7 separate regions of the Homo sapiens genome follow, and all the other regions are linked to region 1. The links are contacts of gene promoters, found by promoter capture Hi-C in blood cells and fetal thymus (Javierre and others, 2016). All regions are on one chromosome and are shown on one strand. Each heading gives the region's core, a stretch centred on a gene start or on the middle of the fragment in contact. The rest is flanking DNA. Distances are from core to core; before and after follow the strand shown. Region 1 holds the start of RNASE1 (ribonuclease A family member 1, pancreatic). Region 2 overlaps CCNB1IP1 (cyclin B1 interacting protein 1). Region 3 has its middle 17 kb from the start of PARP2. Region 4 holds the start of TEP1 (telomerase associated protein 1). Region 5 holds the start of PIP4P1 (phosphatidylinositol-4,5-bisphosphate 4-phosphatase 1). Region 6 has its middle 11 kb from the start of PNP. Region 7 has its middle 20 kb from the start of RNASE10.

Evidence for each region. Contacts are between HindIII fragments. The CHiCAGO score rates a contact against its expected background, and 5 or more counts as called.
Region 2: a contact is called between a fragment that was not itself captured here and the fragment with the promoter of RNASE1 in region 1, in 1 of 17 cell types (neutrophils). The highest score is 5.2, in neutrophils.
Region 3: a fragment that was not itself captured here is called in contact with the fragment with the promoter of RNASE1 in region 1 in 1 of 17 cell types (naive B cells); the score reaches 5.4 in naive B cells.
Region 4: the fragment with the promoter of TEP1 here is called in contact with the fragment with the promoter of RNASE1 in region 1 in 1 of 17 cell types (M2 macrophages); the score reaches 5.9 in M2 macrophages.
Region 5: a fragment that was not itself captured here is called in contact with the fragment with the promoter of RNASE1 in region 1 in 3 of 17 cell types (erythroblasts, M0 macrophages and M2 macrophages); the score reaches 8.2 in erythroblasts.
Region 6: a contact is called between a fragment that was not itself captured here and the fragment with the promoter of RNASE1 in region 1, in 1 of 17 cell types (erythroblasts). The highest score is 5.4, in erythroblasts.
Region 7: a fragment that was not itself captured here is called in contact with the fragment with the promoter of RNASE1 in region 1 in 1 of 17 cell types (monocytes); the score reaches 6.1 in monocytes.

Annotation. Positions count from the first base shown.
Region 1 is chr14:20,800,919-20,804,452 of GRCh38, forward strand. It overlaps RNASE1 (ribonuclease A family member 1, pancreatic), which reads right to left and starts at 1,926. Exons shown (of 2, transcript NM_002933.5): 1 at 1,879-1,926; 2 at 310-1,175. The coding sequence starts at 1,150. The coding sequence ends at 680. The region is part of intron 3 of LOC105370397 (a long non-coding RNA gene); the gene reads left to right. The HindIII fragment of the contact is 7,079 bases long and covers 1-3,534 here.
Region 2 is chr14:20,313,596-20,317,129 of GRCh38, forward strand. It overlaps CCNB1IP1 (cyclin B1 interacting protein 1), which reads right to left. Exons shown (of 7, transcript NM_021178.5): 5 at 2,632-2,965; 6 at 1-206. The coding sequence starts at 2,928. Among named protein-coding and RNA genes, the nearest start is that of SNORA79B, 8.0 kb to the right of the region's middle. The HindIII fragment of the contact is 4,318 bases long and covers 1-3,534 here.
Region 3 is chr14:20,358,576-20,362,109 of GRCh38, forward strand. No RefSeq gene overlaps it. Among named protein-coding and RNA genes, the nearest start is that of PARP2, 17 kb to the left of the region's middle. The HindIII fragment of the contact is 2,261 bases long and covers 882-3,142 here.
Region 4 is chr14:20,411,480-20,415,013 of GRCh38, forward strand. It overlaps TEP1 (telomerase associated protein 1), which reads right to left and starts at 2,022. Exons shown (of 55, transcript NM_007110.5): 1 at 1,926-2,022. It also overlaps the pseudogene RNA5SP382. RefSeq lists enhancers at 860-1,776, 886-1,055, 1,606-1,675, 2,176-2,225. The HindIII fragment of the contact is 9,686 bases long and covers 584-3,534 here.
Region 5 is chr14:20,460,723-20,464,256 of GRCh38, forward strand. PIP4P1 (phosphatidylinositol-4,5-bisphosphate 4-phosphatase 1) reads right to left here and starts at 712. Exons shown (of 7, transcript NM_144568.4): 1 at 462-712; 2 at 1-123. The coding sequence starts at 603. RefSeq lists enhancers at 32-998, 927-996, 999-1,964, 1,297-1,376 and silencers at 167-336, 397-806. The HindIII fragment of the contact is 1,182 bases long and covers 1,279-2,460 here.
Region 6 is chr14:20,478,804-20,482,337 of GRCh38, forward strand. No RefSeq gene overlaps it. Among named protein-coding and RNA genes, the nearest start is that of PNP, 11 kb to the left of the region's middle. The HindIII fragment of the contact is 3,257 bases long and covers 48-3,304 here.
Region 7 is chr14:20,523,368-20,526,901 of GRCh38, forward strand. It overlaps the pseudogene PTCD2P1. Among named protein-coding and RNA genes, the nearest start is that of RNASE10, 20 kb to the left of the region's middle. The HindIII fragment of the contact is 9,274 bases long and covers 1-3,534 here.

The DNA.
Region 1 (3,534 bases), core at 676-3,175:
GAGGTGCCCATTTTTCTGATTTAGTAATAGCTCACTCAAAAAAAAAAAAGGAAAATGGAAATTTAGGATCATAATTTCATTGAGTCCTCTTCCCCACCCTGAGGCTAAGCAGGATCTTCCTGAGGTCACACTTGCCTTCCTTCTGTGCCAGAGAATGATTGTATTTGAGCTTCACCCCTCTGTCAGTTCACCCTGCATGGCAGTGTCCCAGGCTGTAGCTCCCTTTTGTCTAAAACAGCCCACACTTAACAGTTTTATGTTTGGCATCAGGGAATCTACAAGGAAAGGAATTTTCTCAAGCCACTAAAATCCAAGTCAGAAGGGAAGGCATTTAATTACTCCATTCACCGTTCTCCAAAGTGAATCAGATTTACAGTTCTTACCCCTTGCTGGAAGGCAATGCCAGAAACAGTACCTAGACAGAACCGCTTCAGAAATCAGGTGTTTGCAACTGCGTTTTATTGAAAGAAAGAGTGGAGGGGTTAACATGGGGCCCACCTCACAACCCACTCTTCACCCCCAAAATCACGCAGGGATGGGACTCAGGAAAGGGAAGCATGTGTGTGTTGAATAGGAGCCCTAACTGTAGTTACTTCTTTCACAGCAGGGAAGGAAGAGGGAAGAGGCAGCTGTGGAGAGGATGAGGTTGAGGGAGGTGGGGTATCTCGCTGCTCTGACCTTAGGTAGAGTCCTCCACAGAAGCATCAAAGTGGACTGGCACATATGGGCTCCCTTCACAGGCCACAATGATGTGTCTCTCCTTCGGGCTGGTCCGGTATGCACAGTTGGGGTACCTGGAGCCGTTTGTCAGGCGGCAGTCTGTGATGTGCATGCTGGAGTTGCTCTTGTAGCAGTTGCCCTGCCCGTTCTTGCAGGTGACCTTTTCCTGGAAACAGACATTCTGGACATCTACCAGGGGCTCGTGCACAAAGGTGTTCACTGGTTTGCACCGCCCCTGTGTCATATTCCGGCGCCTCATCATTTGGTTACAGTAGGTGGAGCTGCTGCTGGGGGAACTGTCTGAGTCCATATGCTGCCGCTGGAATTTCTTGGCCCGGGATTCCTTGCCCAGGGAAGGCTGGACCCAGCCCAGCACCAGCAGTATCAGGACAAGCAGAAGGAGCCGGACAAGAGACTTCTCCAGAGCCATGGTGGCCTCACTTTCCCAGAAAAGCCTAATTGAGAAAAGGAGAGAGAAGGAAAAGAGCCCTCTTAGAAAAAGAACTCCAGCTCCCACCTATGGCTTGCCTGGTTTACACTTTCTGTTTCAGGTCAGCCAGAAAGACGTCCATCCTACTTCCTGAGGTTTTTCGTGTAATGAGACACTCACGTGTACCCTTTTCCACGAGCGTTTTATTCCCACTCTCCAAAGCGAGGTCTTCCTCCCCTCTAGGTGGTGACCTACAAAGTGACCTAAAATCCTGTCAGTTCCTATCTTTGAATACTGGAGTTTCTTTGATCCAAAATACATTTGTACCCAGTGCTCAAATGGCTCATCGAAACATCAGTTTGAATAAATCATGAACCAAATTGTATCCCCGACATCCAGGGCCATGGGTGACAGAGCCTTGTTGTCTTGGAGCATAAGGGAACTCAGGCCAGTGCCTGACACTGGCATCATAAAAGATTCCATTGTATTCCAGAGAGAAACGCTGGCCTCCCCCAATTTGGAGGCTCCTTCTTCTCCAGTCCCATGGATGCTCTGCAGCCTGCACGTTCCACCCTGACCCCTCTGCCCCCAGCTGATGTTTGCCTGGGCCACATTTTTTCAGCGCTAGCATCACCCAATCTTTCTCAGTGCTGTGGACTGGCCCTAGCTCCCTCTTCTGCAACCCTGAAGCAGAAGCGGCACCTGAGAACACCTCTTGGGCTGCTTACCTGGATCTGCAGCTTGGTGTCTGAGAGAGATGGAAGGCCAGTTTCTGCAATCACTCAGCTCCCGGGGTGTGGACCTTATACAGATTACAAAGGGGTTTGGCTTCCAAGAGGAAAAGGGTGGGAGGAGCATCTGGAGCTCAGTTCAAATAAAATCAAGGACGTGAGGAAGGAGTGGTGAATCACCCAGGCCGCCGTCTTTCTAGGGCTGCTGAAGAAAGAGCAAATCTTTGCCTACGTTAGTCTTTCTTCCTATGTGAACCACATCTGTCTGCTGATGCACAAGGAGCAGCAGAGAAAGCCACTACAGCACTGGTGCCCAAACCTGGCACACTAGGAACAAAGTCCTTGTTACTTCTTCGTGGGCGTTTTCACCAAGTAGACTTGGAGGTTAACAAAGGACGCAAAGGAGAGGTTCTAATGGGAGATAGGGAATTCTGGCCAAAGCTATTCCAGGGCTCCTAGGGAGCAAAACCCAAGTCTCTTTCTAGGAGGGCATTCTCCCAACGCTACCTCTCCCGGGGATGGGAGGCGGGGTCGGGGGGAATGGAGGCTGTCCTGCTGCCCCCAGCTGGAAGGCTTCCCAGATCTGGAGAAGAAAGGGGGAGTAACTGAATAGGGAGGAGGAGGAGGCCTCTAGGGTGCGCTCACCCAGTTCTGGCCACTTCCCACCCACCCTCCACCCCTGCTCTGGGGGCATCGAGAGGATGGGGCTGTTCTTATCTACAGTAACCACTGACCCTGTAGGTCGGAATTGAGTAGAGGAACTAAAGATAAACTTAAATCCCAAATCTCAAATTCTTTTTGGGGAAAAAATACAAAGAATATCATATTTATTAGCAGCAGAATGCCCTCCTAGAAAGAGACCTGTTTTTTTGCTGAGTAACAATTTGGATACCTCTAAGAATTATCAAAATATCCCTTCGTGCTGTGTATTCAGATTGTTTCAGCCTTTCTGTGTAAAAAGTGGCCATAGTGAAATTATCTGACCTACCTTGTGTGATTGTAGGTCGTAAGATCCTCATTCCAGAGAGGGTCCTGCCCCCCATACCCAGAAAAAAAGGACGAATGCTCAGAGAGGCCAAGAAGAATCTAGACAGGGAGGCCTTGCTGGGTTTCCCCACTCAGTCTATTTTCATTAGATCGCCCTGTTGTCCAGTCATATTTCTACACAGCTGTTCATACTTTGTTGATATCCAAGTGTAAGAATGCCCACTTTCCCCTGTTATCTTTGGGTCTTCTGAAGGCTCCCGTGTCGTGTAAAACTACGATCAAATCAATTTGTATGCGTTTTTTCCTATCAATCTGTCTTTTGTCAGTTGATTTTCAGCAAACCTTTGGAGGGTGAAAGGGGAATTTTTCCTTGGCCCCTACAGTTTCCTTACTCCCCCAGCCCCCACCTGTATTTTATTTTTCTGAGTCTTTAATAATACTTTTATTCTCTTGAATAGTCAAGTTAGAATGTGTTCATTCATTCATTAGACTGTGGGATACAGACATAAATAAGGCACAGGACTCACCTGAAGGGCGCCTGGTGGGATGGTTTGGTTAGTCAGGTGGACCCCACTAAGGCACTGGGCGTGGCTGCACAAAAGTGGCCTCCACCCAGCAAGATGATTTCAGAACCACAGTTCAGATGTGAACAGATCTTCTGTAACT
Region 2 (3,534 bases), core at 582-3,081, 490 kb before region 1:
TTGCGCTCCATAAGTTTCTCAGAGATGTCACTGAACTTTTTCTTGTATTCTTCTAGTACTTTCTTCATGGAGGTAACCTCCCCTTTCATAGAGGTCAATTCTACATCCTTGCTTTGTATTTGCTGAGTATATATCTTCTCCATCTGTTTCAGATGGCCCTCAGCCTTGCTGAAATTGTATTCTTGATAGAGACGTTCCTGATGTACCTGGTTCCAAAAGAAAAAAGATTTTTAAGGTATTGGGTACAAAGTTATATATTGTAAAATGTTATACAAACACAAAAGGAAAAGAAAGATGCTTATATAGGGATGTTATTTTATCATTTAGAACCCAGTTTAAGAAGCAATCAGGATACACAATGAGGCACAGAAAACAATAAGTTATGTTACTAAATGCATAGAAAAAAAGTCTGGAAGAATACTCTCAAACCACTAACTTTATACCACCAAAAGAACTGAGTATTTGTCTTAACAAGTGACATGTTTTCCAAAGGTTTTTAAGAAATATAATCCCATTTTTCAAGTAATCCAGAGCATGAAGAATAGACTCTAAGACAACCACAAATTATCGTCTCCTGGTACATACACCCTTGTGTAACTCCCTATCCCCTTGCACGTGGGCAGGACCTGTGACTAGAATACTACAGAAAATGTGACAGGTTGTCACTTCATAAGTATATTACCTAAGACTATAAGGTCTGTCTTACTAGGAGACACACTCCCTTGCTGGCTTTGAGGAAGCAAGCAGTCATGTCAGGAAGGCCCAAGAGACAAGTAACTAAGAACAGCCTCTGGCCAATAGCCAGCAAAAAATTGAGGACCCAATGAATCTAGACAGATCTTATACTTTTCACAAAAATAAACTCAAAATGGTTCACAGACTTAAACATAAAATGCAAAACTATGAAACTCCCAGAAGATAACATAGGGTAAAATCCAGGTGGATCTTGGATTTGGCAGTGACTTTTAAAATACACCAAAGGTATAATCCGTGAAAGAGAAAATTGATAAGCAGGACTTCATTAAACTTAAAAATCTCTGCTCTGTGAAAGACCCTGTAAGAGAATAAAAAGACAAGCCACAGATCAGGAGAGTATATTTGCAAAAGATAGCTCTGATAAAGGATCAAAGAATACTTCAAACTCAACAGTAAGGATAAAAAGAACACTTAAAACTCAACAATAAGAAAACAATTTAAAAATAGACCAAGAACTCGGCCGGGCGCGGTGGCTCATGCCTGTAATCCCAGCACTTTGGGAGGCAGAGGTGGGCGGATCATGAGGTCAGGAGATCGAGACCATCCTGGCTAACACGGTGAAACCCCGCCTCTACTAAAAATACAAAAAATTAGCCGGGCGTGGTGGCGGGCGCCTGTAGTCCCAGCTACTCGGGAGGCTGAGGCAGGAGAATGGCGTGAACCCGGGAGGCAGAGCTTGCAGTGAGCTGAGATCGCGCCACTGCACTCCAGCCTGGACAACAAAGCGAGACTCCGTCTCAAAAAAAAAAAAAAAAAAAGACCAAGAACTTCATATACACCTCACCAAAAAAAAAAAAAAAAAAAAAAAAAAAAGGCAAAAAAGCATATGAAAAGATGCTCCACATCATATGTCATCAGAGACATGCAAATTAAAATGAGACACCACTATACACCTATTAAAATGGCCAAGACCCAGAACATGGACAATACCAACTTCTGGCAAAGATGTGGAGCAACAGGAATTCTCATTCATTGCTGCTGGCAATATAAAATGGTATAGCCACTTTGGAAGACAATTTGGCAGTTGCTTACAAAAATAAACATACTCTCACCACATAAGCCAGCAAAAACACTATTTGGTATTTAACCAAAGGAGTTGAAAAATAGAGGAGCATGTAAGAGAAACAACTTACCCAGAAAAATATAATAAAAAGTTACTTGACAGATGACAAACATCCTTAAGAAGTATAAGTGTATATGTAAGATATAACAATACATTCAAGGACATGCTTAAAGTCATCCACAGGGAGGTCTTTCAAAGGAAATACTAAAAGTAGAAATCATAAAGGGAAAAAGTTAAGGATGCGTATTTGATAAGAATGCTTATCATAGCATTTTAATAACTTGGAAATAAATTATGATACAATATAACCATTAAAATATGATTATAGAATAGTTAACTAAAAAATATTTAACAAGATATTCATACCAAGTGAAGCACAGGCTACTCAGGAGGCTGAGGCGGGAGAATGGCTTGAACCCAGGAGTTAGAGACTAGCCTGGGCAACACAAGAAAACCCCGTCTCAAAAGGAAGAAAAATTCATACCAGATATAATATACTGTCAACTCTTAACAATAAAAGTGTGTGTGTTATCTTACTTTTATACAGAAGAGAGAGAGAGTGTGTGAGTGTGTGTGTGTGTATACCCAAAATATAAACAATGGTTATCTCTGAGTGATGGAATTATGAGTGCTTTAATTTTCTTCCTTTTGATTTTCAACAATAAACAGTATTGCTTTTGAAAACAATTTAATAAAAAGAGTTTCTCATATACTCATAAAAAATTAATAATAATACAATGAAGGAAAGACACTAGAAGTTCCCACAAATGCCATAAATCACATGCTCAAGAGAAACTAGACTAAGCACTAACCTGATATGTCCAGAAGGCCAGCGCTCGGGAGCTAATGTCCAACACGATCTCTGGTCGCAGTCCTGCCAATACCATAGCTTTATATTCCTCTGATGGACTGAGTTCTGTGCGGACAATATCTAGCTTTCCAGAAAGGGTACTGTTGCAGGCAGGACAGATAGCTGGTGAGCGACTAAACTCACCACTGCCATGCTGATCACAGAAGATGTGAGAGCAGGCAGTGACCCATGCATAGCCAGAGAGTTTGATGCGACACTTTCGATAATTACAAAGCAGCATGTCTTCACACAAAGACATAATAGGATAGTGAGGTCTCCAGAAGCTGAAGAGAGGCCTAAGAAGGGGTAAATAAAAAGGCCAAGTAAGTTAAATTGCAATGAAAATAAAAGTAAAAAAGAAATATAACATGCACGTTTTTATCATAAAATACTGCACATTTTATTATATTCCTTGTATTTATTATAATTGATATATTGATTTCAGTTACTCAATAATATTAATTGTGCTCGTTTGTCCGGTTTTCTAAAAACGCTTTAAGGACAAAGGTAAAGACAAAGGTGGTTACAGATCTTGCTAACGTCAAAAATAATATATACGTGGGCCAGGCTCAGTGGCTCAAGCGTACAATCCCAGCACTTTGGGAAGCCAAGGCAGGCGGGGTCCCTTCAGGTCAGGAGTTCCAGACCAGCCTGGCCAACATGGTGAAACCCAGTCTCTATTAAAAATACAAAAATTAGCCAGGCGTGGTGATTCAAGCCTCTAATCCCAGCTACTCGGGAGGCTGAGGCAGGAGAATCACTTGAATCCGGGAGGCAGAGGTTGCAGTGAAGTGAGATCGCATCACTGCACTCCAGCCTGGGGGACAGAGCAAGAATCTCTCTCATAACATGTATATATATAGGC
Region 3 (3,534 bases), core at 762-3,261, 440 kb before region 1:
CTTGGCACTTCTCCTTCCTGCCACCCTGTGAAGAAGGGCTTCCCCTTCACCTTCCTCTATGATTGTAAATTTCCTGAGGCCTCCTCAGCCATGGTGAACTGTGAGTCAAACCTCTTTCCTTTATAAATTACCCAGTCTCGGGCAGTTCCTTATAGCAGTATGAAAACAGACTAATACAGATCCAAAGACTTCCTGATTGTATTTAAACACACAACACAGATAAACAACACACTTCCTTAAGTAACAGAGAAGTTTGTTTAAATTTTTCCTGTAACTTTTTAGAAACCAGGTTTCCAATATCTATCAAAATTTGAAATGTTCATGCCCTGTTGACCTAAAACTTACAGATATATATGTTTGCATAGATGTCACTGAGGCATTGGTGTACACAAAAAGATCATAGATAAGGAACTAGTCAAATATATCTACTCACTGAAGTAACCTGCTATTAAAACTGAAGTAGACTGCATACTTTTCCAAAGAATAGAAGAGAGGAAAATACTTTGCAACTAATTCTACAAAGCAGAATGAAACCAAAACCAGATGAAGATATCACAAGAAAATAAAATTATAGACCAATATCCCTTAACAATATAATTGCAAAAATCAACAAAATACTACCAAGCCTAATCCAGCAACATTATAAATGGACTATATACAATGATCAAGTGAGATTTATCACAGTAATGCAAGATTGAAAACCAAGGTAGGGCAAAAATCACATGATCATCTCAGATGCAGAAAAAGCATTTGGCAAAATGTAACATTTTTTCATAATGAAATAAAATCCAACAAAGTAGGAATGAAAGGGAGCTTCCTCCACCCTATGAAGAACATCTATGAAAAACTCACAGCTAACATTACAATGGTGAAAGATTGAAAGCTTATCCTCTAAGATCAGGAATAAGACCAAGATGTTTGCACTCACCACTTCCATTCAATATTGTACTGGAGGTTCTAACCATGGTACTTAAGCAAGAAAAAAAAGGCATCAAGATTAAAAAGGAGATAAAACTAAATTTGCAAATTACGTGATCTATAGAGAAGGCCCAAAAGAATCCATATTTAGAGCTAAAAAGTTCAGCAAGATTGTAGGATACAAGATGAATTGTATTTCTTTTTTTTTCTTTTTCTTTTTTTTTTTGAGACGGAGTGTCTTGCTCTGTTGCCCAGACTGGAGTGCAGTGGCGCAATCTTGGTTCACTGCAACCTCCACCTCCCGGGCTCAAGTGATTCTCCTGCCTCAGCCTCCCGAGGAGCTGGGGCTACAGGTGCCCACCACCACGCCTGCCTAATTTTTGTATTCTTAGTAAAGACAGGGTTTCACCATATTAGCCAGGCTGGTCTCGAACTCCTTACCTTGTGATCCTCCCACCTCAGCCTCCCAAAGTGCTGGGATTACAGGCATGAGCCACTACACCCAGCCTGTATTTCTTTTTATTTTATTTATTTTTCTGGAGATGGCATTTTACTCTTGTTGCCCAGGCTGGAGTGCAATGGTGAGATCTCAGCTCACTGCAACCTCTGCCTCCGGGTTCAAGTGATTCTCCTGCTTCAGCCTCCCGCCTCGGCTTCCCAACTAGCTGGGATTACAGGCATGTGCCACCATGCCTGGCTAATTTTTGTATTATTAGTAGAGACAGGGTTTCACCATGTTGGGCCCAGGCTGGTCTTGAACTCCTGACCTTAGGTGATCCACCCACCTTGGCCTCCCAAAGTGCTGGCATTACAGGTGTGAGCCACCACGCCTGGCCTATGAATTGTATTTCTATTTCTACACACTAGTAAAGAATAATCTGAAAAATTAAGAAAACAATTCCATTTATAATAGCGTCAGAAAGAATAAAACACTAGGAATAGATTTAACCAAAGAAGCATGAAACTTGTACACTGATAACTACAAAACTATTGAAAAACATTCAAGGCCACCTTTATTTATTTATTTATTTATTTATCTGAGACAGAGTCTTGTTCTGTTGCCCAGGCTGGAGTGCAGTGGCACAATCTTCCCTTAATGCAACCTCTGCCTCCCGGGTTCAAGTGATTTTCCGGCCTCAGCCTCCCAAGTAGCTGGGATTACAGGTGTGCACCGCCACACCCAGCTAATTTTTGTATTTTTAGTAGAGATGGGGTTTCACCATGTTGGCAGGCTGGTCTTGAACTCCTGACCTCAAGGCCCACCTCAGTCTCCCAAAGTGCTGGGATTACACACTTGAGCCACCATACCCAGCTAAGACCTATTTATTTAGGTCTTGAATTTCTGTCAACAGTTCTGTAGTTTTCAATCTACAAGTGTTCGTAGATTGGAAAATTTATTATTAAAATGGTAATACTTCCCAGAGCAACCTATAGATTCCATACAATTCCTATTAAAATTCCATTATCCTTTTTTTTTGCAGAAATGGCCAAGAAAAATTCATAAGGAATTACAAAGATCATGAATAACAAAAACAATCTTGAAAAAGCTACAGTACTCAAGACAATGTGATAATGACATAGGATAGACATAGAAATCAATGGGATAGAATTGAGAGTCTGGATATAAACCCAAGCAAATATGGTCAATTGGTTTTCAACAAGGGTGCCAAGACCATTCAATGGGGGAAAAATAGTCTTTTCAACAAATGGTGCTGGGACGACTTGGATATCCACATGCAAAGTAATAAATTAGGAACACTATCTCACACTACGTAAAAATTAAAATGGATCAAAGGCCTAAATGTAAGCTAAAACTAAAAAGCTCTTAGAGCATAAGGAGAAATCTCTGTGACCTTGGATTAAGCAACAGTTTCTTAAATATGACACCAATGCACAAGCAAGCAAAAGAAATAAGTTGGTCTTCGTCAAAATTTAAAACTCTTGGCCGGGTGTGGTGGCTCACGCCTGTAATTCCAGCACTTTGGGAGCCAGAGGCAGGCAGATCATCTGAGGTCAGGAGTTTGAGACCAGCCTGGCCAACATGGTGAAACCCCATCTCTAGCAAAAATATGAAAAATTAGCCAGGCGTGGTGGCATTTGCCTGTAATTCCAGCTACTCAGGAGGCTAAGGCCTGAGACTAACAAATCTCGGCAAAGATATGGACAAATAAAAATCCTCACACATTGCTAGTGCGAATATAAAGTGGTGCAGCTGCTTTGGAAAAGCTTGGCAGTTCCTCAAATAGTTGAACATAAGAGTTATCAGGACCTAGCAATTCCACTACTAGGTGTATAACCAAGAGAATAAAAAAGCAATGTTCACACAAAAATTTGTACATGCATATTGATAGCAACAATATTTATAATAGCCAAGAAGTAGAAACACTCCAAACATCCATCAACCAATAAATGGATAAACAAAATGTGGTTTATTCCTGTTAGATATGTTAACTATCTTGACCGTGGTAATAATTTTATTAATATATATATATGTCAAGCTTTATCGAATTGTGTATTTTAAATATGTGTGGTTTATTGCATGCCAATCATAACTCAATAAAGCTGTAAAAACATAAAAAGTATATCCATCCAATGCAATATTATTCCGTCATAAAA
Region 4 (3,534 bases), core at 772-3,271, 390 kb before region 1:
GTCTGATTTAGGTGGCCTTCTCCTTGTTTTCACAACACCCATATGTCCCCTATCATAGAGCACATCACCTGTTTGTCTTTCTTCCCAATAGACCATTAAGTTCCTGAGGAGAGAGACCCTTTTAGCCTTGTTCCCACAATTGCTGGTCAGCGGGATTCAGAGGCTTTTGAGAATCTGGTAAAAGCTATGGAGCTTTTTCACAGAAAAAAAAAAAGTATATACTGTTTTGTGCTCAATTTTCAGAGTGTCTATGAAGCCCATTTATGGACCTCCCAGGATCTCCATAAACTGAAAATTAGAAACCTCTGCCTAACAGAATGCTTGAATTATACCATCAGGAACCTATTTTCTGGCTGGGTGTGGTGGCTCACACCTGTAATCCTAGCATTTTGGGAGGCTGAGGTGGGAGAATCACTTGAGGTCAGGAGTTCAAGACCAGCCTGGGCAACATAGTGAGACCTCTATTTAAAAAAAAAAAGGAATGTATTTTCTTACTTATTTGGACAAAGGCTAATCTCTCATTCATATGTAAATATTTTGGGAATAATATTGTTAAGTCAACCACCTAAACTTAGTGTGAAAAAGCTTAGGGACAAAAGTACAGAACACTTCCAAGAAGACCTGAATGACTAACAATCCAGGGCCAAAAAGGACAACAATATCTCACTGGACGTCAGTGTGACAAACACGTAAAAAATGATGGCTTCTGTGCCCAATACACTTTGCTCATGTCGTTGCCCTATATAAGCCCCCAAGGAAAGGAGTGGGGAAACTCAGAATTGACTCAGATTTTTTTTAAAAGAGATCTCAAGCCAAAAATAAACAGAAAAATAAGGACAGTTTATTTGAGCAACATAGTGAGACTGTCCTATCCTTAAAAGGACAGTCTCACTATTTTGCTCATTTTATTGTTTTGCACCCTGGAGTTTTTGAAAGGAGATTCGGCTGAACCACAAATGGAAAGTTAAAGTTCCGTCCCCACTTCCATCTCTAGTTCCCTTCTCTGGAAGTAAACATTGCTCACAGTTTTATACTAACAGTTTCACAGTTTCTATGCATATGCAAATACATGCCTTCACCATCACCACTGCTTTTGCTTTTGCTTTACACAAACAGGATCATAAGTTAGATGCTATTCTGCACTTAGTATATCTCAGAGACCTTGCCCTGTTAACACATTAATACCCACCTCACTCTTTCCTTTTTTTTTTTTTTTTTTTTTTGAGGCGGAGTCTGGCTCTGTTGTTCAGCTCACTGCAATCTCTGCCTGCCGAGTTCAAGCGATTCTCCTGCCTTAGCCTTCCGAGTAACTGGGATTACAGGCGCCCACCACCATGCCCGGCTAATTTTTTTGTATTTTCAGTAGAGAGGGTTTTCACCATGTTGGTCAGGCTGGTCTCAAACTCCTGACCTCAGGTGATCCCCAACCTCCGCCTCCCAAAGTGCTGGGATTACAGGCGTGAACCACCGCGCCCGGCCTCCACCTCACTCTTCAAGTGGCTGTATGGTAGTCTAGCACATTTAAGCACAGTCTGGGTTTCTATTATCACAAACGGTTCTCATACTACCATTTGTTGGTGACAGCCACTGTCCCCTTTCGATGGGCACACAGGGCAAGGAAGTAAGAGGGGATGATTCTTACGTGGTCTCTCTTCCTGTCCCTCCCTCTCCTTCAGCCTTCTCCTCCTCCTTTCTCACCTCCCCTTTCACGCAGTATACACTCCCTCCCCTTCCCGGAGCCGCCGGGAGGAGCAGGGTGGATGCACCCCTAGCTGAGTCTCGGGTGGTTCCTAACCGGCCCCGCCAGGCACTTCCCACCCAGCTCTCAGCCTCAGAGCCCAGCGCCCTAGACCCAGGGCCAGGGCAAGTTCTGCCTGCGCTCGGACCCTACCTTAGACTGGGGCTGGAAACCCTGGGTGCCTGACCTGGGGCGTCCGATTCCCGCAGCAGGAAGCAGAAACTTCGCTCTGGATTCTGCCGGTGGGAAGGGTGGCAGCCGGGGGAGGAGCCGGATGCGGATCTGAGAAGAGACGGTGCGGGCGGAGACTCTCGGGCCCGGGCGGGGCGCAGCAGCTGCTGGAAGGGCAGCGAGCCGAGGGCCGGGCAAGACGACATGCCAGGGCTGCGACGCGAATGCCCAGGACCCCTGCCGCCTTTTCTGGGGCCCGAGTTTAGTTTGTTATTGTTTCTATTTTTTTTCCCTTTCTGGTCCTATTTTCTCCTGTCCCTAGGGCTTCCCCCTCTACCAAATTCGTCTCCTCTGGCTAATTTTCGTCTTTTTTTCTCCCATTAACTCTTCAAACACCGTTTCCTGGAAAAGATTTTAGCATGCTCGCTGCCTAGCTGTACACCTCTCCTTCCTAATATCAAAGACGGTCAGACTCAATTCATCCTAAAGTTCCTTTGAGGAACTCCTTAAAAGGAGACGGAAAGCGGAAAGCAACCGCCTGTAACCAAGTGTAGACATCAGTCAATCAAAGTTCGCTGAACTGAGAGCAAGTGCCTCCCCTCCTGTTGATCAGAAGAGAGATCCGTGGATCACACAGAATCTATCTGGAGCCATCCTGAATGATTAATGCTGAACCCTTTCCAGGAAGATGGAACCAGGCTTAGGAAAGAGACAAGTGACCCTTAGGTTAATAATCCTAGCTTCATAAAGAGAGGACCAAACATAGTAGCAGGAGAAATATGCTTTCTGCCTTTATATAAAGCAGATTAGCTGTCTTCTGGAAAATATCATTGCTTTCCTTAGAGAGGTACCCTTGAGTCTCAGGTAACAGCTGAGCTTCCGCTCAGAATTGAGGGCATTCTGTCCTCTATTAACTGAGCCAGTACCCCTTTCCTTCCTTAGAAACCTCTATTGCCACCAGTCCCAACACTCCCTGCAATGGTCTTTATGTTTGTGTCTCCCCAAAATTTATATATTGAAACCCTAATCCCAATGCGATGGTATTTAGGGTGGGATCTCTGGGAGGTCATTAGGTCATGGAGTTTAGAATACTCATAAATGGGATTGGTGGCCTCATAAGGAGAGACGGAAGAGCTAGCTAGCTCTTTTTCCACGATATGAGGATACAAGAAAACAGCCATCTGCAATCCCAAGGAAGACCCTCATCTTCAGAGGCAGACCATGCTGGCAATCTGATCTTGGACTTCCATTCTCTAGAACTGTGAGAAATAATATTTGTTGTTTAAGCCACCCGGTCTACGGTAATTTGTTATAGCAACCTGAACTAAAACATTTCCTTTTTATAACAAATATTTTAAAGCTCTTTTTATTTTTCTGAAACATAATTCGTAAAGAATGTAACTTACCCCCACGCACAATTTTAAACCAAAATTTAAAGACAAAAAGTAGAGACAGGGTTTTGCTATGTTGCCCAGGCTCTCTACCTCCAGGGCTCAAATAGTCCTCCTACCTTGGCCTCCCAAAGTGCTTGGATTACAGGCATAAGCCACCATGCCTGGCCAAAAAATTAGTAAAATCTCTTAAAGAGATATAAAGGAGTCTACGGCCATACCACCCCGAACGCG
Region 5 (3,534 bases), core at 620-3,119, 340 kb before region 1:
ATTGGCAGACTCGGCAGGTGATCATAGGGGCACTCCCACTGTCCGGGCTAGTTAAGGGTGAATAGGGGGGTGGGTCCTCCCCAGGCAACACGGCTGGATGCCCCTCGGGAAACGGGGGAAATGCTGGAGAGGAAGCAAATAGAAGGGCTGGGATCACTTACACCCCCACTGATGCTCCACGGTGGTAGGGAAGTCCTTCTGATCTTCAACCCTCTGACCAAGCTCGGAGGGCTTCTCATAATTGGCACTTCTATCAGGTTGCTCAGAACCCCCTTCCGTCCCTAGGCTGTGGTCGCGATTACGGAGGGAAGGAAGCCTCGCCCAGTCACAGGTGCAGCAGTCCCGCACCTGGCGACTGGGACCCGCCTCCGCCCTCGGTCCCGCCCCCTCCCCGGCTTTCAGAGTACCCCGGGGAGCACCTCGGACCCGCCCCGGCTTACCCTGGGGCGGGGCATGTTTACCGGCTCCGTACGGTGGTGCGGAGGGGGTCAGGCCTCCCCCGGGCCCAGCCCCACTCCCGCCGGGCCCCACTAAACCGTTGCCGCCCGCGCCACCGTCGATGGGCTCAGACAGCAGCGGGGAACGCTCTCCATCTGCCGCCATGGCCGCCACCGCCGCCTCCCGCTCAGGTCGGCGATCCGGCTCCCTTCGCCTCTGCCGTCGCCGCAGCCACCGCCACCGCCGCCACCGCCACCGCCGCTACCGGGTCCCCAGGGCGCCTGCGCGCCGCGCGCCCAGCTCACTCCGCAACCAGTGGCCTGCCCCGCCCCGTTCCGTCTAGCAGCACGTGATAGGCTATCCCCGCCCGGGTCATGCTATTATTCGCGTAGATAAACCAATTCCTGGTCCTGTGAAGGCAGCTCTCCTTTTCCATTGGGGAGCGACGCACAAACGTCAACTGTCACATGACCTGCCAGATGCTGCTGGGCTTGCAAAACCTGCACGTGACTAGAGGTTCTGCAAGCTATTGGGAGCGACGCCCATCGCGCTACCTCCAGACCAGGAGGTAGGGCTAGGCTGCGTCTGCTCAACTGGTCACGTGTTTCTGGAAGCTGCACGGTCCCTGTTGCTCTGCTCCTCATTGGTTCAAAGACACCACTAAAACACTTTTCTCCGGCTTTGCGTTGTAGCTGGTTTCCTATTGGCTGGTGACTTTACTTCTTTCGTCCTGTGATCCTAGCGGCGCAACTGCATTGGCCCGAACTTAGCGCCAGAACATGGGGGGCGTGGCTTATGCATTTTAAAGGAGGCTGGGCGGGTGCAATAAAGGAGTGCGGAAGCTTGGGATCTTCTGAGCGGGGAGAAAATGGACGGTGGGGAACAGTAGACAAAGTTAGCTGTTCTACTCAAAGAAGTACCTTTAAAAAGTCAGAGTAATGAGGTACCAGAAGGAAATGGATTAAAAAGTTAAGATTATCACTCCAGCCTTTGTCGCTAGAGTCACTTTCAGGACAGGACACAAGACTGGGTTTTCCTGGAAGCTGTCCTTACAGAGCCCCGTCTTTCCCCATTGCTGATCAAATTGTTAAATTATCTTTTCATTAGTGTCTCCACTACTAGAAGATTTCATCGTTTTACTAAAAAAAAAAAAAAAAAAATTCAATAGAGATGGGGTCTTGCCTATGCTGGACTCAAACTCCTGAGTTTGATCTCCTGCCTAAGCCTTCCCAGTAGCTGGGACTACAGGGACAAGCCACCGTGCCTTTACTCAGTTTTATGACCACCAACCTTTAACATACGCACAAGTTTGTAGATTGGATTAATCAAATACAAGGTTATTTTCGTCACCTTATTTGACAGATGGGACAGTCTTTAGGCCTGTCTCAACTTTGCTTCCAGCAAAGGGGCAGTGCCTCCTCCCCTACCTGAAGTCTCGTGTGGTCTTTATGGGCGCCTGAACCACACCTGGATTTTTTCCCAAGTCATAGCCCAAACTGGGACTGCTTTAAATATGGGAAGCAACAAGGAATTGATAAAAACAATAAACCCCGAGGAGGTCCATTATCAGTTTGGCTAGCAGACTCTCCACTAAGAAAGGAAGTGCATCAAAGAAAGTACAGCCAGCCCCAAATATGTAATAACAAAGGAACTGCAGATGTCCCAGCACTTGGCTGCTACAGGGGCTGGAGACTTCACCTAGGTCCTGATTTTTTTAGACAGGGTTTTCTCAGGCCAACTTCTACTTGGAAGCTAGTAACCTTCGACCAGTTAGATAAGAGCCCCTAACAGACACTTAAAGAACTAAGGAAGCTCCAGATACAAAATAGGGAAGAGGTTGTAGCTCCATAGAGGGAGGCCAGTCTGCTGCTTTTTCTGCTGTTTGTGGCACACAGATGCTCAAGCATTGTCTGGGGTTGGAGTAGGATCCATTATTTGCGCCCTAGTTACACATATATTCCAAAAACTGTCCTAAAAATATTTTTTAAATATCTACACTTTGTGAAAGACACTCCTTAAAAAAGCTTACACTCTGGGTAGGGAGACAGAATAGTGTAAACATTGACAGTATAACATATCAGGTCAGGAGTGGTGGCTCATGCCTGTAATCCCGGTGTTTTGGGAGGCTGAGGTGGAGGATTGCTTGAGCCCAGGAGTTCAAGGTTACAATGAGCCATGATCTAAACCTGGGCAACAGAGCAAGATCGTGTCTCAAAAAAAAAAAAAAAAAAAAGAAAATCAGCACTAGTATTTTATTACATGGAAAAATATCAATACTAGAAATTCATGATACAGCACATGCTTCATAATAAAAGAATTAAACAATGTAATTCAAGTTCAAGAAAAGAAGAGATCACTTCTAGCTAGAGCAGCCAGAGAAAACTTCTAAAACATAAAGAAAAATGAGTATTGTGCATGGATAACTAGGATCTGAGCTCTGTGTTGTTGAGTAGATCAATAGGCAGAAAAATGCAAAAAGTAATCATAATATTTGGAACTTGCTCACAGTTAATAAAGCATTTTTTTTTTTGAGACAGAGTCTCACTCTGTCGCCAGGCTGGAGTGCAGTGGTGTGATCTCTGCCCACCTCCCGGGATCAAGCGATTCTCCTGCCTCAGCCTCCCGAGTAGTTGGGATTACAAGTGTGTGCCACCACACCCAGCTAATTTTTGTATTTTTAGTAGAGATGGGGTTTCACCATGTTGGCCAGGATGGTCTCAATCACTTGAACTCGTGATTCACCCGCCTCGGCCTCCCAAAGTGCTGGGATTACAGGCGTGAGCCACTGTGCCCGGCCAATAAAGCACATTCATAGTTATATTCATTTTATTTCAGAACCCACTGTGATGTGGACAGGGAAGGCAAGACTATATCTTTATTTTACAGATGTGGAAACTGAGGCTGTGTAAACTGGAGTCATTTAAGCTAAGTGACAGATTGAAATGGAGCTCTAAATCCCCGTCTTCTGACTTATGATCTAATATTTTACATTCAAATAATTTGATAGGTAGATTGAAAGGGACAGAAGCACAGAAGTGGCAGAGAGAAGGTGCTTGGGATGAGCCCCCTTTTATGCTAAATGCCTGGAACATAGAA
Region 6 (3,534 bases), core at 426-2,925, 320 kb before region 1:
TATGTCCTAGAGATACTTGAGTGGAATATTTAAGAGTGGAATATGTAAGCTTTTTAGACTTAGTAAGTAGATTTACTAAATTCATATTTATTTATATGAAGACATAATGTCTTCAGTTTCTTTTTTAAAAAACAGCTGTATTGAGATAAAATTTACGTACCATAGAATTCACCCATTTAAGGTGTGTGATTCAATGGTCTTTAGTGTATTCACAAATAAGTGCAATTATTGCCAGTTAATCTGAGATCATTTCATCACTTCAAAGGGAAACGTTATCTGCTCCCCCATAGCCCCAAACAGCCATTTATCTACCTTCTGTGCCTATAGATTTAACTATGTTGGACTTTCACACAAATGGAATTGGACTTTTGTGGCTGGCTTCTTTCACTTAGCATAATGTTTTCAAGATGCATCCAAGTTGTAGCATGTATCAGTACTTAATTCTTTTTTGAGGCCAAATAATATTCTATTGCATGGATACACCACATTTTGTTGATCGAGTGTCTGATTTTAAAAAGCCAACCAGTCCAGCCAAAACCGAACGTATCAGTTTAGGATTGTAGGATACGAGCACAAAGTGAAGGGAAGTAGGTGTGGGAGGGCTTTCCAGAGAAAAGACATTCTTGAAAAAAACTGGCGATGATACCATTCATTTCTGGAGGGGCCTGCAGAATGCCTGCAAAATAGATTGATTTTACTGAGTCTCATGGTAGGTGTCCAAACACATTGAAGTCAGGCTTGCTTTCTTGACCCTATCATGACCATCTTTATTAGCATCAATAAATATTCATTAATCATGTATTATGTAGAGAACATTGTCCTAAAAACCAAAATGTAAGTTGGTATAAGATGAAGTGTCTACAGTCTAGATGTGAGACAAGATGTATGCATAAAAAGAAATAACTAGGCTGAGTTATTTGAGCCCTTTATAGCTGCTAAAGACTTTTACTAATCTCTTCATATGTTATATTGTCATTGTTTAGAATCAGCTTTTTCGACTGAACTGAGGAAGAGGGCCTAATTTTTTACAAAAGGAGTACAGTAATGTGTGAAAAGTAGCGTATGCTAAGTGTCAATGATGGTATGTGCTACAGGAATTGAGAGAAGAGGACCATCACCGGAGCTGGGGAGTAGGAAAGGATTGATGAGACATTATTTAGGCCTTACAGAAATGCCAGGCACAGTGGCTCATGCCTATAATCACACATACTAGGTGGGAGATTCACTTGAACGCAGGAGTTTGAAGCTGCAGTGGGCTTTATGATTGCGGAACTGCACTCTAGCCTAAGTGAGAGAGTAAGACTCCATCTTTGAAAAAAAAAAAAGATAGGTGAAGAGGACATGGCAGAAGCCATTACATACAGATGAATCCAGGAATGTTTAATCATTGAACAAACTGAAATGCTTAAAGTGAAGAAATAAATGGGAAGATGGGCAGCAAGCTGGAGAGGAGCTCTGATTCCAGGCTCAAGAGTAGGACCTTAGGGCCAGGTGCGGTGGCTCACGCCTATATCCCAGCACTTTGGGAGGCCAAGGTGGGCGGATCACTTGAGCCCAGGAGTTCAAGACCAAGTTCGAGACCAGCCTGGGCAATATGGGGAAACCTCGTCTCTACAAAAATTACAAAAATTATCTGAGCATGATGGTGGTTGCCTGTGGTCCCAGCTACTTGGGAGGCTGAGGTGGGAGGATTGCTTGAGTCGGGGAGGCTGAGCCTTCAGTGAGCCATGATGGAGCCACTGCGCTCCAGCCTGAGCAACAGAGTGAGACCCTGTCTCTCAAAAGCAAAACAAAATGAAAGAGTAAGACCTTATTTTCTAGGCAAGATGGCCAGCCATTGACAGTTTTTAAACGAAGGACTGGTAGATAAAAATTGCACTGTAGTATTTTGGTGGCTAGAAGCCTGACTAAAAGAGAGGCTTGTTTTGATAGTAGAATTACTTTCACCCAAAATTAACTGTACAGAATAGCACAATGGTTGGTGTTAAGTATTTAATTTTTAGTCAGGTTGGGGTCTTCTGTAGTGTTTTAAAGAATAAATTAGCCGGGCACAGTGGCTCATGCCTGTAATCCCGGCACTTTGGGAGGCCAAGACAGGAGGACTGCTTGAGTTCAGGAGTTTGAGACCAGCCTAGGCAACATAGTGAGACCTTGTTTCTACAAAAAATTTAAAAATTAGCTGGGCATGGTGGTGCACACCTGTAGTCCCAGCTATTCGGGAGGCTGAGGTGGGAGGCTGGCTCAAGCCTGGGAGATCGAGGCTGTAGTGACCCATGATCATACCACTGCACTCCAGCCTAGGTGACAGAGCAAGACTCTGTCACACACACACACACACACACACACACACAAAAGGAATAAGCTGTTATAAAATAGAATGTAGAGGCAAAAGTGCAAACAACTTAGAGATGAAAATATACACTTAAGTCAATAGTTTCCCCTTCTTTTTAATATAAAATTGTGAATAGGTATATAATCACATAGTTCAAAAATTAAGCAACATAAAATGTGTATAGTGAGAACTCTCACCCCTATCCTGTCCTCATATGCCCTTCCTTCCCCACCCACTGGTGACCACTGTTATTAGTTTCTTTTGCATTCTTCCAGGATCTATACAAATATAAACAAATACAAATTCTATTTTTCTTCTCTTATTATAAACAGCAGTTAGTATGTTATATATACTTTCTGTATCTTGCTATTTTATTTTAACATATCTTGGAGATCTTTTCACATCAATGAATTAGTGTGCCTTCTTGATGACTTACATCAATGCTGCCAAGGATATATGTCTGTCACCTCCAGTTTTTTAGAAGCAAAGGGAGAATATGGTCTTAATTTTTTTTGCCACTTCTCAGTTCGTTTGTTGATTACTAATAGGAATAGACACAAAGAGGTAATGCCACCTGCTGCTCCTTTAAAGCAAGAAGTTGGGAAGAAGAGAGCTATTCATTCTGTGCTGTGCCTTCTGCCTAATTCAATTTGGCTTAGATTTGTGTTGCCTTTTTTTTCTTGTAAATAGGCCCCTGATTTTCATAATAATGTTTTGTTTCTCAGGGATGCCTTCGAACAAACACTGGTTATCTGCTTGGTTTTTCTGTTACTGTAAATTTGGATTTTAATAAAAATAAAATTTTCCTGTCTTTAATCATTTTGTCTAATTTTTAGTTTTGGCTTAAATTAGATGTGATATTCTTTTGGATTAATCTGAATTTGCTCTGTTGTTTTCGGGTCAAAGAACCCCTACCCCTCCATCGGGCTTTTACTTTCACGTCCATTCTGAGTTTGTTTGTTCATTGTAGAAAGCTTTTACTTTGTCTCACTTGCCAATCTTTTTTTTTTTCTTGTTCTCTTCTTCTTTTTGCTGTTACTCTTTTTAAAACACCATTTCACTTGTTAGCTACTTGACTTTGGCCTTGGTTTTCCCTTTTCCTCTTTATTTTGAACTGTTTCTATCTGAGCTCCTGTTGTAATTTATAATAAAAAGTTAGTAGAATATAGTACTTCTCTTGTGTAGCCTGACCTGATCTAGTT
Region 7 (3,534 bases), core at 665-3,164, 280 kb before region 1:
TGCCCAGCCTCCCCATCATTATTTAGGCAGTTCCTTGCTTTTAGAAACTACAAGATGGTCCAAGCTCATTTTATATTTTCCTTCCCCTGGAACCAGTCATTTTTCTAAGATGACCTGGTTGTGTTTAGTGACGAACAGTATTTTGAAACCTGGATCTGGGTGCTAGGTAGGTGCTCATTGCTGTTGGGGTGAGAGAGCTCTAAGGCTGTCTCAGTGGACATAGGTGGGAATATGGCAAATAGCCAATCACACTCACACTCACATGTATTTGCATGTATTTTCTCTTTTTTCTTTCTTTCGTTTTTTTAATTTTTGCTTACAAACCTTTTTTATTTCTCTTATTTTTGAGAAAATCTGATCCTACTGAACTTTGCATGAAGATTTCAAATCTATATGCAAATACGCATAGGCATTATTGTTTTGCATATGGAAAAATGAGGGCTCAAGTCATAGAAATATATGATGGCAGATCAGTGAGGAAATCCTGGGCTATTTTCTAACATGATAGAATAGGGTTTCAGACCTCTTGAATTCAGCAAGGATGTAATTTACAAGTAACTACTCCCTTGAAAATCAGAGTGACCACACTTGTAGTGAAATTCATTCCTGTGGTGCTTGCTGGATTCCATTCTGGTGCTGGAAGCTGGACTGGAGACTGACCATGTTCCTTCAGGTATCCTCAGCAGTGTACAAGGGAAGCTCCTTTCTGAGGGAACCATGCTTGCATGTAGACCTTCACAGTAGTGCAACATAACTTCTCAGAGATCAACATGCCACCATTCAGTGAACTTGGGAATTTCAAGAGGAGGCTAAGTGTCAGCACAGCGTCTACTGAAGTGCAATGCCTGCTTCTTAGGGAAGGCAACAACTCACTAGAAGCAGGCCCTTCAGATCCACAGGTGGATGAAATGAGGATTATTACTCAGCCAAAAAGGACCGGTTGAGTGGCTGGAAGGTCCAATGGCTCATCATCCTCTTGTTTAATAGCAACATATGGGATTTCCTGTCCCTGGGGGTGTGGCAGAGCAGAGTACCCAAAGTACAAGTGGTGACCTGGCCACTGATGTGCAGTTTTCCATAGATCTCATTAAATCTGGCCACAAGGGCAGGCATATCCTTCACTTTTCCTTCACTTTTGCCAGCACTTCCTCTGAGAATGCATGTCTTTTCACAAATTTTAATAAATTTCCTTCTGCAGCATTTTTTTAGTGTCTCTATCAGGGTTTCCAACATATTTGACTGGATATGGATTATAATAGTTAAGTTAGTGCAGGCTATGCTTTCTGGATTCATGGTTTGAGAAAAAAATGGACATAGCTTTTGCCACTTGGTTCTGATTCAGAGCTAACGCCACAAAGAAACGGGATGCTCTCCTGGAGGGAACCTCTCCTTTGAGTGGGGCTTCTTCTGTTAATGCAGAACAGATTTTGAAAGACTCAGCGCTCTTCAGTTTGTTGCAAACTGCAAAACTAAGAACATAGGATATTTGGTGAATTTCACAGCTTGATTTTTCATCTCTATCAATACTTCCAAAGCACTTTTATATTTGCCTTTGATAAATAACATATCCATCAAAATATTGAATGATGTGGAATCTGAGAAGGAATCTCATAAATGCTGGTCTTTCATGAGCCCCTCAAGATCCAACCCATAACAGACTCATGAAAAGTGGTCCAAACCTATACTCCCCCAAAGTGATATTTCTGTTCCCTGCATGGTACCTGTAAATGACATTTGTAGCCAGCTCCACATGGTCCTGGGACCCACAAAAATAAAGTAAGGTTATCAACTCCCCCTTCAAGATGAGCTTGTCAGTTTCTCTTCCAAATTCCTAAAATAGGTTTCTTTAGGAAAGATTACATGCAACAGCCACCTTCTTGTGCTGAAATTCTTTTAATTTCACAATACTATCTGTAAGTAGGTATCTGTTAGCTCTGAAAGGACAGCAGCCACAGGCAAAGCTGGAGGCTCCCACCCCAGGATACACCGAAATCTGCAGCAACCTGCAGGAGAACTCGATTCGAGGGCCTAAGTGCAGCACATGTATTTTCTTTATGTAACATGTAAGTTCTCACATGTATTTTCTTTATGTAACTATATTGAAAACCATACGTTTATACCAATACCTCAATTCAAATCCAACCCCACAAGCTCATATTAGGTTTTCTCTTCCCATATTTATATCTTAATTTTCTTATTTATAACTTTTTGACTTATAAATTTCTTCTCCCATATTCTTTAATATAGTTGCTTATTGCATGCATCTTCATGTATGTAACCAATCTCACCTTGCTGCCGCCATTCCCCCTCCCATATGGATGCCCTTTGCCCACTCTGGCTCTGACACTCTGTGCCAGGGCTGCCCCTCTACATGGGTGTCCACCATTTGGGCCTGGATATCTCACACTAGGCAACCCCTCTGAGTGGACATCTCCTCCACTTGCTCAGGCTGTGATTCTGCAGGCTGTGTTCCCCTCTCAGCCCCCTCAGACATCCCTCACCAGGGACACCTTTTCATCTCTCTTGGGTTCTGAGTTCTTATTCCTGTGCCAGATGGCCCCTCCTCATCAATGTCTATGACCTTGTTCTGCCCCACCTGGTGGCTTTAGGACTAAATGGTTTAGAAAGGGAAGGTTAGGGAAAGAGGACTTATATCTTTTGAAAATTCTATTATATAATAGAATTTTCCATATTGTTGAGTAGTCATTAAAAAGTTTTACTCGATATATTTTATTCTATTAATGTAATGTGATTTATTTAAGTATTCCCTCTTTTGTCACATTAAGGTGATTTCCAATCGTAAGTAATTTGGGCTGGGCATGGTAGCTCATGCCTATAATCCAGCACTTTGGGAGGCTGAGGCAGGTGTATCATGAGGTCAGGAGTTCAAGACCAGCCTGGCCAACATGGTGACACCCTGTCTCTACTAAAAATACAAAAATTACCTGGGCATGGTGGTGGGCGCCTGTAATCCCAGCTACTTGGGAGCTGAGGCAGGAGAATTCCTTGAACCTGGGAGGCAGAGGTTGCAGTGAGCTGAGATCGTGCCACTGCACTCCAGCTTGGGTGACAGAGGAAGACTCCATCTCAAATAAATAAATAAATAATTTGCAGGCTGTTTTCCCTCAAACGAATTCCCTCTAATGGTGTCCTCTACTAGGAAAGGTGTCCTGTACTCACTAATCCATCAAAGGTCTATTGACTTTACAACATATTAAGGTTTAGCTCAACTCCACCTCCCTCCCCTCTTCCTAATATAGCTATATTTCAGTTCTCTTGTTTACCTTTCTAACTTAATACTATGCTAATCATTTTAGTATCTTTTTCAGATAGGCACTGGGTATTCTGAGTTCCTATTTTGTAAAATAAGAATATTAGTATCCTTCTTTTCATTCACTCTCTTTTCGTCTGTGTCCCAGCTTCAGTCAACTGTACTTTACTTTTACATTGCCTTGATTGTTAATATTAATATTTAATTCTGTAACCAAAATTAAGACTTAAGTTCATTGACTGTAAAAGCTGAAAATTGATACA